2 separate regions of the Homo sapiens genome follow, and region 2 is linked to region 1. The links are contacts of gene promoters, found by promoter capture Hi-C in blood cells and fetal thymus (Javierre and others, 2016). All regions are on one chromosome and are shown on one strand. Each heading gives the region's core, a stretch centred on a gene start or on the middle of the fragment in contact. The rest is flanking DNA. Distances are from core to core; before and after follow the strand shown. Region 1 holds the start of MAP3K8 (mitogen-activated protein kinase kinase kinase 8). Region 2 holds the start of LOC105376479 (a long non-coding RNA gene).

What was found. The method cuts DNA at HindIII sites, captures the fragments that hold promoters and counts their contacts. A CHiCAGO score of 5 or more calls a contact.
Region 2: a contact is called between a fragment that was not itself captured here and the fragment with the promoter of MAP3K8 in region 1, in 2 of 17 cell types (monocytes and megakaryocytes). The highest score is 7.6, in monocytes.

The regions. Positions count from the first base shown.
Region 1 is chr10:30,432,582-30,438,901 of GRCh38, reverse strand. MAP3K8 (mitogen-activated protein kinase kinase kinase 8) reads right to left here and starts at 4,718. Exons shown (of 9, transcript NM_005204.4): 1 at 4,524-4,718; 2 at 1,496-1,726. RefSeq lists enhancers at 3,217-3,754, 3,879-3,928, 4,219-4,318, 5,039-5,178, 5,850-6,320 and 3 more and a silencer at 4,759-4,998. The HindIII fragment of the contact is 9,039 bases long and covers 1-5,337 here.
Region 2 is chr10:30,584,798-30,591,493 of GRCh38, reverse strand. LOC105376479 (a long non-coding RNA gene) reads right to left here and starts at 3,808. Exons shown (of 4, transcript XR_930794.4): 1 at 3,708-3,808; 2 at 3,249-3,340; 3 at 2,293-2,448; 4 at 335-1,889. The HindIII fragment of the contact is 3,568 bases long and covers 3,475-6,696 here.

The sequences.
Region 1 (6,320 bases), core at 3,469-5,968:
ACAAATATTTAGTTTACGATATTTGTATTTGCATTCAAGACCCATGGGAAACTGACATACAAGGATTGGCAACAGGATTTTATATGCTTTTGTTCAGAAAACGAGGGTTCTGTGTCAACTGTGTGTATGAATTCAAGTTGACAGTGCAGAGTTGAAAGGGACCTAAGATAACCTTTAGTCCAGCTCACTTTGCAGAGGGAAACCTGAGATCCAGAGAGCTTACTCTTACTCACAGAGTCAGTGGTATCAGCTACAGGCACTGAAAACAAACTTTCACTAAACATACACACGAATCAAGAGCAGCTCAGAAATCTTTGAAGACCTTAGGCTACCGGCTCTTTAGGGCTTCCAACCTTACACAACCCAGCTATTCCCCCGAAGTGGCACCCTCCCTGCAAGAATCGCTATGGCTTTTTTATGCCTCTGGTGACTTTAAAGAAAAATAACCTCTTCACTAAATGCAGGAGCTAACTTGGCAAATAAAACTCAGGCCCTGAAAGCCAGAAGCTGGAAAAATGGATTTCAATCTACACAAATTTGATGGCAATAGGTCAAGTTTCAGGAATGATTCTTATGCAAATGAGTTAAACAGCTAATTGGAAGGATGACAGGAAACCTTGTTCTCCCAGTGATGAGTATGAGAAAGATGATGATACATTTAACCTATGATTCAGCTGTCCTCCCTTAGGACCAGAATTCTTTAATAGTGCAAAGCAAACATCTTGAGGGTCCCAGAAGATTAATATCTAAATAAATGGCCTTCTAGAAGCTGTGAGTAGTAGAAAGAAGCCAGGAAAGTCAAATTTATCATAAGCAAGTCCAAGTGACTATATTAACCAAAATTGCATTTCAGCTCTTATATACAAATCAGCTGCCACACTTGGAGATCTGTAGATGAGAAAAAGAAAGTAAAGCAAGGGTAAAAACTGACGTTGTTACTCAGGATTTTAGAACAACTCTGTTCTGAAGGAGAAAAGACAAAAGGCCCTAAGAGATCTAAGAGAATTTCAAGGCACATTGGTTTACTTAAATCACCGATTGCACTCCCAAAAGCATAGCCTCTTTCTGAAAGGTATTTCAAGTTCTGAGAAGCACAAGCCTTTAACACACAGGACACTCAGGGCTAAAGCCACGCACGTCTGATCAATCTGGAGCTTCATTTCAAAGCTCCAGGAAATGCTCCACTGCAGAGCCACCTGCACGCATGACCCAGCCATCTGCCTCTCAGTGAATTTCATTTGACAAAAGAACCATGCAATTTAGTGTCATCATTCACTTACTTGATGGTCATTTTCTGACGTATGAATTGTGTCTGAGGAAAGCAGTTTAGCATCCTGCAATCCAACATTCCTCTGGTCTCAGACTGCTTGGAGTCAAATCTCATTGCCTCCCCCCACACTCCCATTTACTGCTTGCATGACGTTGAGCAAGTAACGTAACCTCTCTCGACCTCAATTTTCCCCATCTGTAAAATGGAAGTAATAACAGCACCTACCTCATGAGGTGGTCGTGAGGATTAACAGAGTTCAAGCTCATAAAGTGCTCAGTGCAGTGTCAGGGGCATGGTAAATAAGCTGTGTCATTTTTAGCTGCTTTGTATGCATGAGTGAGAAAAGTACTGAGTCAGACTCCTGGCTTTGCAGATACTGCGTTAGCTTCCTTTCTTATCTGCAAACAAGATGTGGCTACCTATTCCCCTGGCTTCTTCGCGGTAAGAAGATTGCATCTAAAACAAGACATAAAGAGAGAGAAAAAAAAGGCAGAAACCTATGAAATGCTTTCATGGCTGTTATCACCACCGTGAAATCTAGAGTGAGGGGGCAGCTTCCCCTCCTGAGATCTTGTACATCTTCGAGGGAGATTGTGATTCAGGTTCTTGGAGTCTGCTGAGTTAGGAGAGCAACTTCTTAGATTAATGGAGGAACATTTGACTTCGGTTTTACTGAGCCGTTTAGTTGCAGTTTCTGCTTGTCGAATTTACTGGAAACACAGAGGTTAAAAAAAAAACAGCCTAATTTAGGGCCTCAGGGGTTGAAAGGATCCAAGTCTCCTGGACTTATTTATCAAACAGATGATTTGACAGAAAAAAAAAAAGTTCTCAGTACTAACATGACTCAAGAAAGAAAGAGGAAAAAAGTCCACACAGTTCAAATTCACTCTGCTGATCTGGGAAGACAAATTTTAGAGGATTTTTTTTTTTTTTATAGTAGTAGTGGTATTCTTTTTATTCTTTATTCTTTTATTTTTTTAATTGGGGGGTTTTCCTGTGAGGACTGGAGATTCTAAAAGACAAATCCTAAAAGAGCTGTAAGACAAGATGTTAGTTTTTAAACCCTGCAGAAAAGTCTCAGGCATTTATATGTAAAACCCAAGAGCTTGAACACACACAACCACACCCCTAAACTGTGAGTTGCCTGGAAAGGGGAGAGGGAGGGAAGCAGGACCCGGGAGGTGGAGGAGTGTCTGACGCTGAGACTTTTCTCAGTGCCTGCAGTAATTCCTTAGCAACACAGGGCCCCTGTCACGCAAATCTACGTTCCCCAGAAACCCTGCTGACCAGTTCGCCTGCTAACTGCGCCTGCAAAAAGCCTCAGCACTTTCCAGCCTTAATTAAGCACACAATATGCTAATGGTTTCTGAGTTATTCATGATCTGTGCCCATCTAGAGAAAGTTCAGATTGTGAAGGTATTCTAGTTTGGCAATAAAGACGTTTAGTATAAGATGATTTTTCCCTTGACACAGTTTACAATAAAAGTCCTCATAAAATTCCTACTTCCTAACCAAACAGAAAATTATGCCAGCTTTTGGAATTGGAGAGATGTGCAAATACAGTCAAAATTAGTTACACTGAATTATTTCAGAAATCAGCAATAAAATCACGAGGAAATTCTCTTCCTAAACATTAACATAATACTCTTGGCTGCCTCCATATACAGAAACAAAATGTGAGTGTTTCCTGGCAAGTGTGAATGAAAATGGCCAGCATAACAGCATATGCTTCTGCCTAACAAAGAATGACTATTACTTGTGTTATTTCTCATTTAAAATATTTTTTTAGGCCGGGCACAGTGGCTCATGCCTGTAATCTCAGCACTTTGGGAGGCCAAGGAGGGTGCATCACCTGAGGTCAGGAGTTCAAGACCAGCCTGGCCAACATGGTGAAACCCTGTCTCTACAAAAATTAGCCGGGCGTGGCGGCGGGCGCCTGTAATCCCAGCTACTCGGGAGGCTGAGGCAAGAGAATCGCTTGAACCCGGGAGGTGGAGGTTGCAGTGAGCCGAGATCGCGCCATTGCGCTCCAGCCTGGGCGACAAGAGTGAAACCCCCTCTCAAAAAAAATTTAAAAATTATATATACATATATACATATGTGTGCCAAAATAGTACATTCTCCCTCAGGGCACATTTCTGACTATGTTTTTGCTCTCAAAAAGCCCCGGATTATGCGTTTCAGGCGTATGGAAGGAAGGACCGACACTCTGCTTCAAAACCTCTACATGCCTCAACGTTCCCATTTGCTTTACACGACAAAGTCCTCATGGGCCGTATGCCAGACGTCCTGCACACAAACCTCAATCCGTCGCAGAGAGCTGGGGGCGTCAGCTGGAAGTGGATTACACTCTCCTTGGCACAAACGACTCAGGCCACAGGTATGTAAAGCAACTGCAAGAGCCTTTCTGTCCCTGTTTTTTATCAAGAGCAGCCTTTAATCTTGTCTTCCCAAAAGTGAAATAGACAAGCATCGCAACGTTTCTCTCTTACAGGCAGCCGGTGGCCTTCCCCTGTTAACTATGGAGACAATCCCTAGGCGTCCTTCTCCGCCCAGAGCTAGAAAAATTTCAGAGTCCTGATCATGCACTATCGCTCGAAAACAACTTCCGTGAAAATAACTTTTTTTTTCTCCTAGTATTCTTTCTTAGACCAAAAGCCCAGCCTTCGTGTTCTGCTATGACCTCTTTAGTCATGGGATAGAGTCCGGGTTACAAACTTGAATTTAGTTCCAGCCATTCACAAGTCTCTGGGCTCCGCCAACCCACACTCCCACTCCTTTCCTCCTGGTTCTCTAAGTCAAGGGAGCCTAAAAGGCTTATAAATTATCAAAGCACCCAGCATTTGGGAGGATCGGGTCCTCCAGCCTCCGAGCTGCACTCACCGGGTCTCGGGCAGGGAGAGTGCGGCCGTCCAGGCGGCGTCGGCAGCGGGAGGCGCAGTGACAGCGGGTCCCCGCTTCCCCGCGCACTGCCCAGACCAGCACTGCCCTGGCGCTGCGGATACGGGAAGGAGGAGGAAGGGGGAGGAGTCGCGAGTCTGCACCCCGTGAGACCCTTGCGCAAGGTGCTTTCCAGCTGTGCCTGGTGCAGCCGGCGACCCGCGAGCGCAGCTGTGGGCACGCCCCCACCTCTTCCCACGCCAGAGTTTTCCCCTCTGCTGGGGGCACCCTCCATTTCTGCATGGGAATCCCCGGGGCACCCAGGCGGGACGCGACCCGAAAGACACGCCGGAGACCCCCAACCCTGGATTACCTGCGGCCTTGGCGCTCCCACGCCGGCCGAGCGCTCCAGCCGCGGCCCCCCGAAGGTTCGGTGCGATGCTGGCTGCAGGCCTGTGGGAGCCGAGCACGCCGGGCCACTGGGATCCGGCGGCGGCAGCGGCAGAAGCAGGAACCAGGGCGCCGGACCCCAGAGCGTGGCGCGCAGTCCAGAGCGGAGCGGACGAGTGAGACCCGCGTCGCCCGCACGCTCAGACCGCCCTGCTCTGCCCCTGACTCACGGCGTCTGAGCCTGCCCAGGGGCGGCGCAGCGGACGCCAGCCACCGCCTCCCCGACTTTTCCATTTCCCCTTTCTCTCCGTAAACAGAAAGAGACTGCCCGGTTGCAGGGTAAGCCAGAGCCCCCGCGCTGGGAAATTCCGCGTCTCCCCCCCACCCGCCACCCCGCCGCCCCTCATTTGCCCTCTGGGCGCCCGGGCGGAGCTGGAGGCGGGACTAGGGAGGAGCAGAGCGGCGCGCAGGGAGGAGCGCGGGACGTGAGCTGCGGCCCGAATCGAGAGCCTGGGACGGGGACGAGTTTTCCCCCGGGCCTGGTGACCCAAGGCGTCTTAGTGGCGGAGTTGCAAGAGGTGGTTGTGCCCTTCCCGGTCCCCAGGGAAGGTCGTATATCTTAGTGTACTCGCGCCCTCGGCGCTTCTCTGGAGTCCCAGGGTCCGGCGGGAGGGCACGCTCCCGGGGGGCGGCGGGGAGGGCAGTCACCAGACCTTTTTCCGCGCGCCCCACGCTCTGGGGTGGGGACAGAGGCGCCGTGTGCCCTCCCAGCAGTGCTGCGGGAAGCCGGGGAAGCTTCGGGGCTTCTTGGAACCGCGACTGTGGGTCCGATTGCTAGTAGCACGGCCCCGCCTCGCCCAGATTTCGCTTCAAATTCACACACAAAGAGGGCAGTGACCCGTGGTGCGCACGCACACATTCCAACTTAGAGATTTCCAAGAGGCTGCGGCAGGGTGGGCCCGGAACCTGGTTGTTGGGCGCTCGGCTGGGAGCCTGTGCACTCCGCCAGCAGAACCTGGTTTTCTTCTCTGCAGTCTTTATTAAAATTGGTTATTTTGCGGCACCGCCTCATTAGGAAGCGTACTTGTACTATCTCCCCGCTCCCGCCTACCGCTAACCCTCAGTCCTAGCTGCTCATCTGGGGTTTTCCTTCTAGAGTGTCAAGCTTTTACTCCAGGTGTAACCGGAAGAGAGTTCTAGAGAAAAGCGCCACTCTCCCGAAATCCACTCTGCGGGACATTCCCAATGCCCCGCCACCCCCTCCCCCTACATTTCCCACGTATCAAGCACCCACTAGGAACCAGGCATTCGGCTAGAGCGCGGAGAGCTAGGAGCCATGTAAGGTCGACATCCTCTCTCTCTCTCTCTCTCTCTCTCTCTCTCCCCCCCCACCTACGGCCCAGGAGGTGGGGTGTCCCAGGCACAACCCAGATTCAAACGCGGTCACACTCCAAGTCCACGCCCTATTCTTCCCAGTGCCCAGGTCCGTGCTCCCTCTGCAGTTTCTAGATTGCCTCCGCGCGGTTGCGCACGCCTGTAATCCCAGCGCTTTGGAGGCCGAGGCGGGAGGATCACTTGAGGTCAGGAGTTGGAGACCAGCCTGGGCAACATAGCTACCCCGTCTCTACAAAAAATCTAAAAATTAGCCAGGCATGGTGGCTCACGCGTGTCATCCTAGCTCCTCGGAAGCTGAGGTAGGGGGATCCCTTGAGCCCAGCAGTTCGAGTCTGCCGTGAGCTATGATTGCGCCATGGCACTCCAGCCTGGGCGACAGAGCGAG
Region 2 (6,696 bases), core at 4,009-6,508, 150 kb before region 1:
TCCCTTAGGCAGCAGAGCGGGAAAGATGAATTGATGGCCCTGCGGTCTCCACCACCCTTTCCTACCTGGGAAGTCTAGTGTCTGTAATTACTCCTGTTGGCCTCTAGATGGCAGTCGGGGAAAACAAAACTCTGATGGGGCCGAGCCACAGAAACTAACAAAAGGTTGGAATAAAGCTACAAAACAAATATGATTTTTTAAAAATACAGCAGAATAAGGGTAAATAGATAAAATGTGAAGAAAACTAACCAATGACTTCCTGCATATAATACACAACCAATGCTTTAGGAGAAATCTCATTCAAAGCTACTTAATTTAGAATTCTGAAACCAAATTCACAGCTTACTTGGGTACGTTTTTAATAGTCCACAGTCACAATGCCAATATTTATGCTTCACTTTATGCAATAAATGTTATTGTACTAAGCAGCTTTTGAAAGTCTCTCTAAATTCTAAAGATCCCCTGAATATGCTCTTTTATTTTGCAGTGGGGGGCAGGGGAAGGGTGAACTACACCTTGATTTTTTTTTTCAACTTTTAAGTTTGGGGTACCTGTGCAGAATGTGCAGGTTTGTTACATAGGTAAATGTGTGCCATGGTGGTTTGCTGCACAGACCATCCCATCACCTAGGTGTTAAGTCCAGCATCCATTAGCTATTCTTCCTGATGCTCTCCCTCCATGACTTACCCACAACAGGCCCCAGTGTGTGTTGCTCCTCCCAAGTGTCCATGTGTTCTCATCATTCAGCTCCCACTAATAAGTGAGAACATGCAGTGTTTGGTTTTCTGTTCCTGCATTAGTTTGCTGAGAATAATGGCTTCCAACTCCATCCGTGTCCCTGCAAAGGACATGATCTTATTCCTTTTTATGGCTTCATAGTATTCCATGGTTTATATATACATTTTCTTTATCCAGTCTGTCACTGATGAGCATTCAGGTTAATCCCACGTCTTTACTATTGTGAATAGTGCTGCAGTGAACATACGTGTGCATGTATCTTTATAATAGAATGATTTATGTTCCTTTGGGTACATACCCAGTAGAGGGATTGCTGGGTCAAATGGTATTTCTGCCCCTAGGTCTTCGAGGAATCACGATGCTGTCTTCCATAATGGTTGAACTCATTTACATTCCCACCAACAGTGTAAAAGTGTTCCTTTTTCTCCACAACCTCACCAGCATCTGTTGTTTTTTGACATTTCAGTAATAGCCATTCTGACTAGTGTGAGAAGGTACATTATTGTGGTTTTGATTTGAATTTCTCTAATGATCAGTGATATTGAGGTTTTTTTCACTTGTTTTTTGACCACATATATGTCTTCTTTTGAGAAGTGTCTGTTCATGTCCTTTGCCCACTTATCTTTTTTTCTTACAAATTTGTTTAAGTCCCTTGTAGACTCTGGATGTTAGACCTTTGTTAGATGGATAGATTGCAAAAATTTTCTCCCATGATTCCCTGAATACACTCTTGATAAGCAGAATATGAAAATTCAGCTTTTGCAATTTGAATCATATTTTCCAGTAGATTTTAACACGATCTTTATATTGATTGTTCTAAGCCCTGCAGTTCTAGCCCTTTGGAACTAATATTTGAAATAAGCTCAGGGATATTCTCTGGATCCACGCTCTCATAGGAGAACCTGTTGGTGGTTCCATTTTCTCCCCTGGGAGGCTCCTCTGGGGGGTGTTGGTGCTGCAGGAGTGACAGGTGTGTAGCAGGTGTGGGTGAGCTGTGCTGACAGCAGTGGAGGGACCTGTGTGTCCTGAGTCCTCAAATGAGGCAGCAAATCTGCTAGATGCATCCTGGGATGCTGAACTGCGGAGGACTTCTTCCCAAGTACCGGCCCGCAGCCCAGTAACACAGCGCTTGGGCCGCCCAAGGCCACTTCCTGTTGGGGAAGAGAGAGAGACTTCAAGTGCAGAACTTGGTGACAGAGCGCTGAGGCCAAGTGGCTGTTGGGACTGATACCCAAACAAAAAGAAGGCAGACCTCACATCTCAGGTCAGTCACCACTGACACAACCCAGCACCTGACGGCACCTGGGACATCTGACAAACGCAGAAGCCAAAACCCAAATGACAGACGTTCAGAGGGATGAATTCCTGCTGGCAACTTGTGCACCGAAAACATCAGAAATATGCAGCTCAGAAAAAAAAAAAAAAGGTGATTGACCGTCCAAAGTGTCTACTTTTGAAAATTATTTCTTAAAGTTAACATTTTTCACAAAAACATAAATTCATTGGGTTAGAATCGACCCCAAGAAATCACCTGGTCTAGTGTCTAATTCTTACCTCCAGAAGGAGCAGCTCTTAAGCCATGCCAAGCAAAACAAAACAAGACCAACAAAACCACCTGCCCCTTCCCTTTCTTCGAGTTTCTAGAGGAGATTTGACCAGGAACCGCTGCTTTTTTCCCTTCGCCATTAGTACATCGTTGTTAACGTCTGACTGTGGATTAAAACAGACCTGGATTAGAATTCATACTTCTCCATGTACAGGCTGTGCACACTTAAGCACTACCTAACTCTCAGAGCCGCACTTTCTCCATCTGTAAAATGAATACCAGGATATGCACCAATTAGAGGTGCTGCAAGGCTTGAATAAAAAAAATATGTTAACAGCTATACGTGATGCTTGGCCACTATGAATAGCCAATCCATAAACACTTGGCCCCTTGTCTTCCCTCCTCCCTGTCAGGAATAGTTGGGTTATCATAATAACTCCCCCAATATCATAATAATTGGGGGAACACTACTAAAGTTTAATGGTCAGATGTTCCACTTTGCTTATGTCAGCCCTGTAAAGTGAAAAATCATCCCATGTCCTAGACGATTTCCAAGTATACAGCTGAACATTCATACAGGTGAAAAACCCACAGGTAATGATCTCAGCCCAAACACAAATTTTGCAGACAAATGTAGGCATTTTTTGTTTTATTTTATTTTATGTAGAGATGGCAGTCTCGCTATGTTGCCCAGGCTGGTCTCAAACTCCTGGCCTCAAGGAATCCTTCTGCTTCAGCCTTCCAAAGTACTGGGATTACAGGTCTGAACCATCATGCCCAATTAGGCCTTTTTATTAACATGGTTATAAGTATATGACATTTTCTCGTACATTTTGTTGTCAATCAAGGGTAGACTTTTTGTGTGTGTTGTTTGTAACTTGGCCAAGAATTGTTGACAATTTTGTAAAATCAGATTAATAATGTTAATGCCCCCAGAAGTATATAAATCATGAACACAGCATACCTATGTCAGTACATATTGTAGTGGTTAAGTTCCTGAAGATTCCTCACAGAGAGAAATGGACTCTACTGATTCCTTATGTCACAGTTGTTGCACTGCATAGATTTAAAAATAAATTTTGGGTTGCAATTTCAAAATAGTAAAAAGACTTTTTAAAAAATATTGTATTGATAAGCAAATGGGGTCACTGGGTGTGACAGGGCTGAGGGCCCTTGCAGTTGCAAAAGCTTGGACTTCCCAGCCAACCAGCCCTGGAAGGTTCTCCGTGGCCTCCCACTCCATTCATTCATTTGCAGGAGCAGCCCTTCATTGGGGGGATCCCAGGGGCTGCCCCTAGGGGCCCCTCTCATGCACCATCGGCATCAGGCCTTGATGCTTAGAAGCAGCCGGCTCTGAGTGAGTGTGGATGTGGCTGCCTTCCCTGCTGATCCCCAGGGAAATCCCCTAGCATTCCCCACTCACCTGAACTTGACTTTCCCTCCAGCCACAGGCCCTAAGAGAAGCCAATGATCTTCCTCCTCGCTGCCTGTCGCTGAGAGGGGAAGATCGCCAGGGGATCCAAGGCCAAAGCCCAGTGCTCTGGGGCAGTCCCAGCTGGGATCCCACTTCCTCATTTGCTCTCTTCCGTTCCCCTGCCAGCTAAGGTTGTCAGGCTTAGCAAATACATCTGCAGTATTTGAGATATGCTTCTACTAAGCCATGCGATGTTTAAGATATCTAATACAAAAAAAAAATTGTTGTCAATCTGAAACTCAAATTTAACCAGCATCCTGTATTTTCTCTGGCACTCCTACTCCCCATGCCTCTCTGGAGTTGAGAGGTAAGAGGCCAGCAGGGAAAGAGGTCTGGCAGTCACCTGCCTCAAACTTCGGCTGAAGAGGCAAGAGCTGCCCTGGGGGGCCTGTTGCTCTCTTCATTCCCAGAACCAAATGCTGTCCTCAAGTTATCCCCAGTCCCCCCTTCTCCTGAGTAAGGAGCATTATATTTAGGGTAGGAAAACACCAGTATGACTTTTATACTGATGATCTCCAAGATCTTCTAATTTTAAAGTGAAACAAGGAGATACATAACCTTTGTGATCCCAAGAGAATGGCTGCATGAAGCTGTATGGATTCCCTGATAATGCTAGTCTCAGAATCAGGGCACAATGGCAGGATCTTAGGGATCATCCGCTGCACCAGCCCATCTTACAGGTGAGCAAACTGAGGCCAGAAAAACCAAGTGACTTCCTCTTGAGTCCCAGAACAGCATTCTTTCTAGGCTGCTATATGAATAAGACAAAGGGGGGGGTCTTTTCTTCATGGAAGTCCCTTCTCTCTCACTAGAGCGAGAGCTGTTTTCCTTTCTCTGTCTTTTGCCTATTAAATCTCTGCTCCTAAACTCCTGTGTATGTCTGTGTGCTAAATTTTCTTAGCACAAGATGATGGACCCAGGTATTTACCACAGACAACATAGCTGCTTCACTGACATGTCAGCAAAAGGGACACAACTGGAGATACTGGTTATTTTACCAAGGCTTTGACTGGAATGGTGAAATTTGCTTTAAGGAATCAAACTTGACTTATAGAGCCAATACAAGCTCCTTGGGAAAACTGGCCTCACACCTTGTCTACACAGTCCCTGTACAGGGTTCCTGACCTTTGGCTGACACAGCAAGAAAGCCCTCACCAGATGCTGATCCCTCAGTCTTGGACTTCTCAGCCAACAGAACCATGAGCAAATAAATTTCTGTTGATTATAGATGGAAAAAAAAAAGGCAAAGGGGATCCTACATTACAGTCCCAGTGGGCAAAGCAGTCAGCCCCTAAACTTCCTATGCAACTCTTGAATCTCCAAAAAAGTTATAAGCAGATGCATCACAAAGAAAACTCTGTCTATGGGGCAATAATCAGCTATCAGCAAATCTTGATACTTTGAAGGTGGAACCCAGGGACTGTGGAAATAAATAAGGATCTTCTAATTCTAGATTTTCTTGAAGGCAAAAACTTTGTGAGGCTTACATAAAATGTGTGACATGGAGTACATGCCCTCTGCTTTCAACAGTGAGGGTCTCTTCAATCTTGTACTAGTCCCTGGAGGGCTTTAGCACCCTCCCAGTGGCTAACTTACGACATTGTATTTCCTAGAATCTAGGCAGGTGTCTCAACCTTAGTGCTGAATAATTCTTTCTCACAGGGCACTGATAATTCTGTGTCTTGTAGAATGTCTAGCAGCATCCCTGACCTCTACCCATTAGATGCTGGCTGCATCCCCACTCAGTGACATTCAAAAATGTCTTCTAAACATCTGCACTAATATGTTTATCACAGCTCTATTCACAATAGCAAAGATATGGAATCAACCTAAGTGTTTAGCAATGGAGAATTGGACAAAGAAAATATGATATATATATCATTATACTATATATAGAATAATTATATATTATTGTACATATAATTGTATATAAAATATTTAACTATTATATATAATATATTAATATAATATAGTATATATAGTGTATACATAGTATAACATATAGTATATATTTATATATTATATTTATATATTATAGTAATATAATAATATATAATATATAATTATTATGTATATAATATAATATATTGTTTATATAATGTAATATATTAAATGTTATTATATATTACATAATATATTATGTACATGTATACTAATATATAATATATTATATAATTATATATAATATATACACACATCATGAAATACTATTCAGCCATAAAAAAGAATGAAATCATGTCTTTTGCAGCAACATGGATGGAACTAGAGGCCATTATCCTAAGTGAAATCACTCAGAAACAGTCAAATATGGAATGTTTTCATTTATAAGTGGGAGCTGAAGAGTGGGTACACATGGACACACAGAATAGAATCACAGATATTGGAGACTACAAAAGGTGGGAGGGTTGGAGGGGGTGAGTGTTGAAAAATTACCTATTGGGTACAATGTTCACTATTCAGGTGATAGGTACACTAAAAGCTAAGACTTCATCACTATGCAAAATACACATGTAAGAAACCTGCACTTGCACCTCTCAAATACCTAGGAACAAAAAATAAACTTAGGCCGAGCTGGGGGTGGCTCACATCTGTAGTCCCAGCACTTTAGGAGGCCTAGATGGGTGGATTGCTGGAGCTCAGAAATTCGAGACTAGCCTGATCAACATGGCAAAACCCCGTCTCTACCAAAAATGCAAAAATTAGCCAGGTGTGGTGGCTCACGCCTGTAATCCCAACTGCTCAGGAGGCTGAGGCAGGAGGATTGCTTGAATCTGGGGAGGTGGAGGTTGCAGTGAGCCTTGATCACGCCACTGCACTCCAGCTTGGGTGACAGAGTGAGACCACAACTCAAAAAAAATTGAAATAAAATATATAAAATTTTAAAGTCTTCAAGCCTGGCATGGTGGGACACCTCTGTAGTCCTAGCTACTTGGGAGGC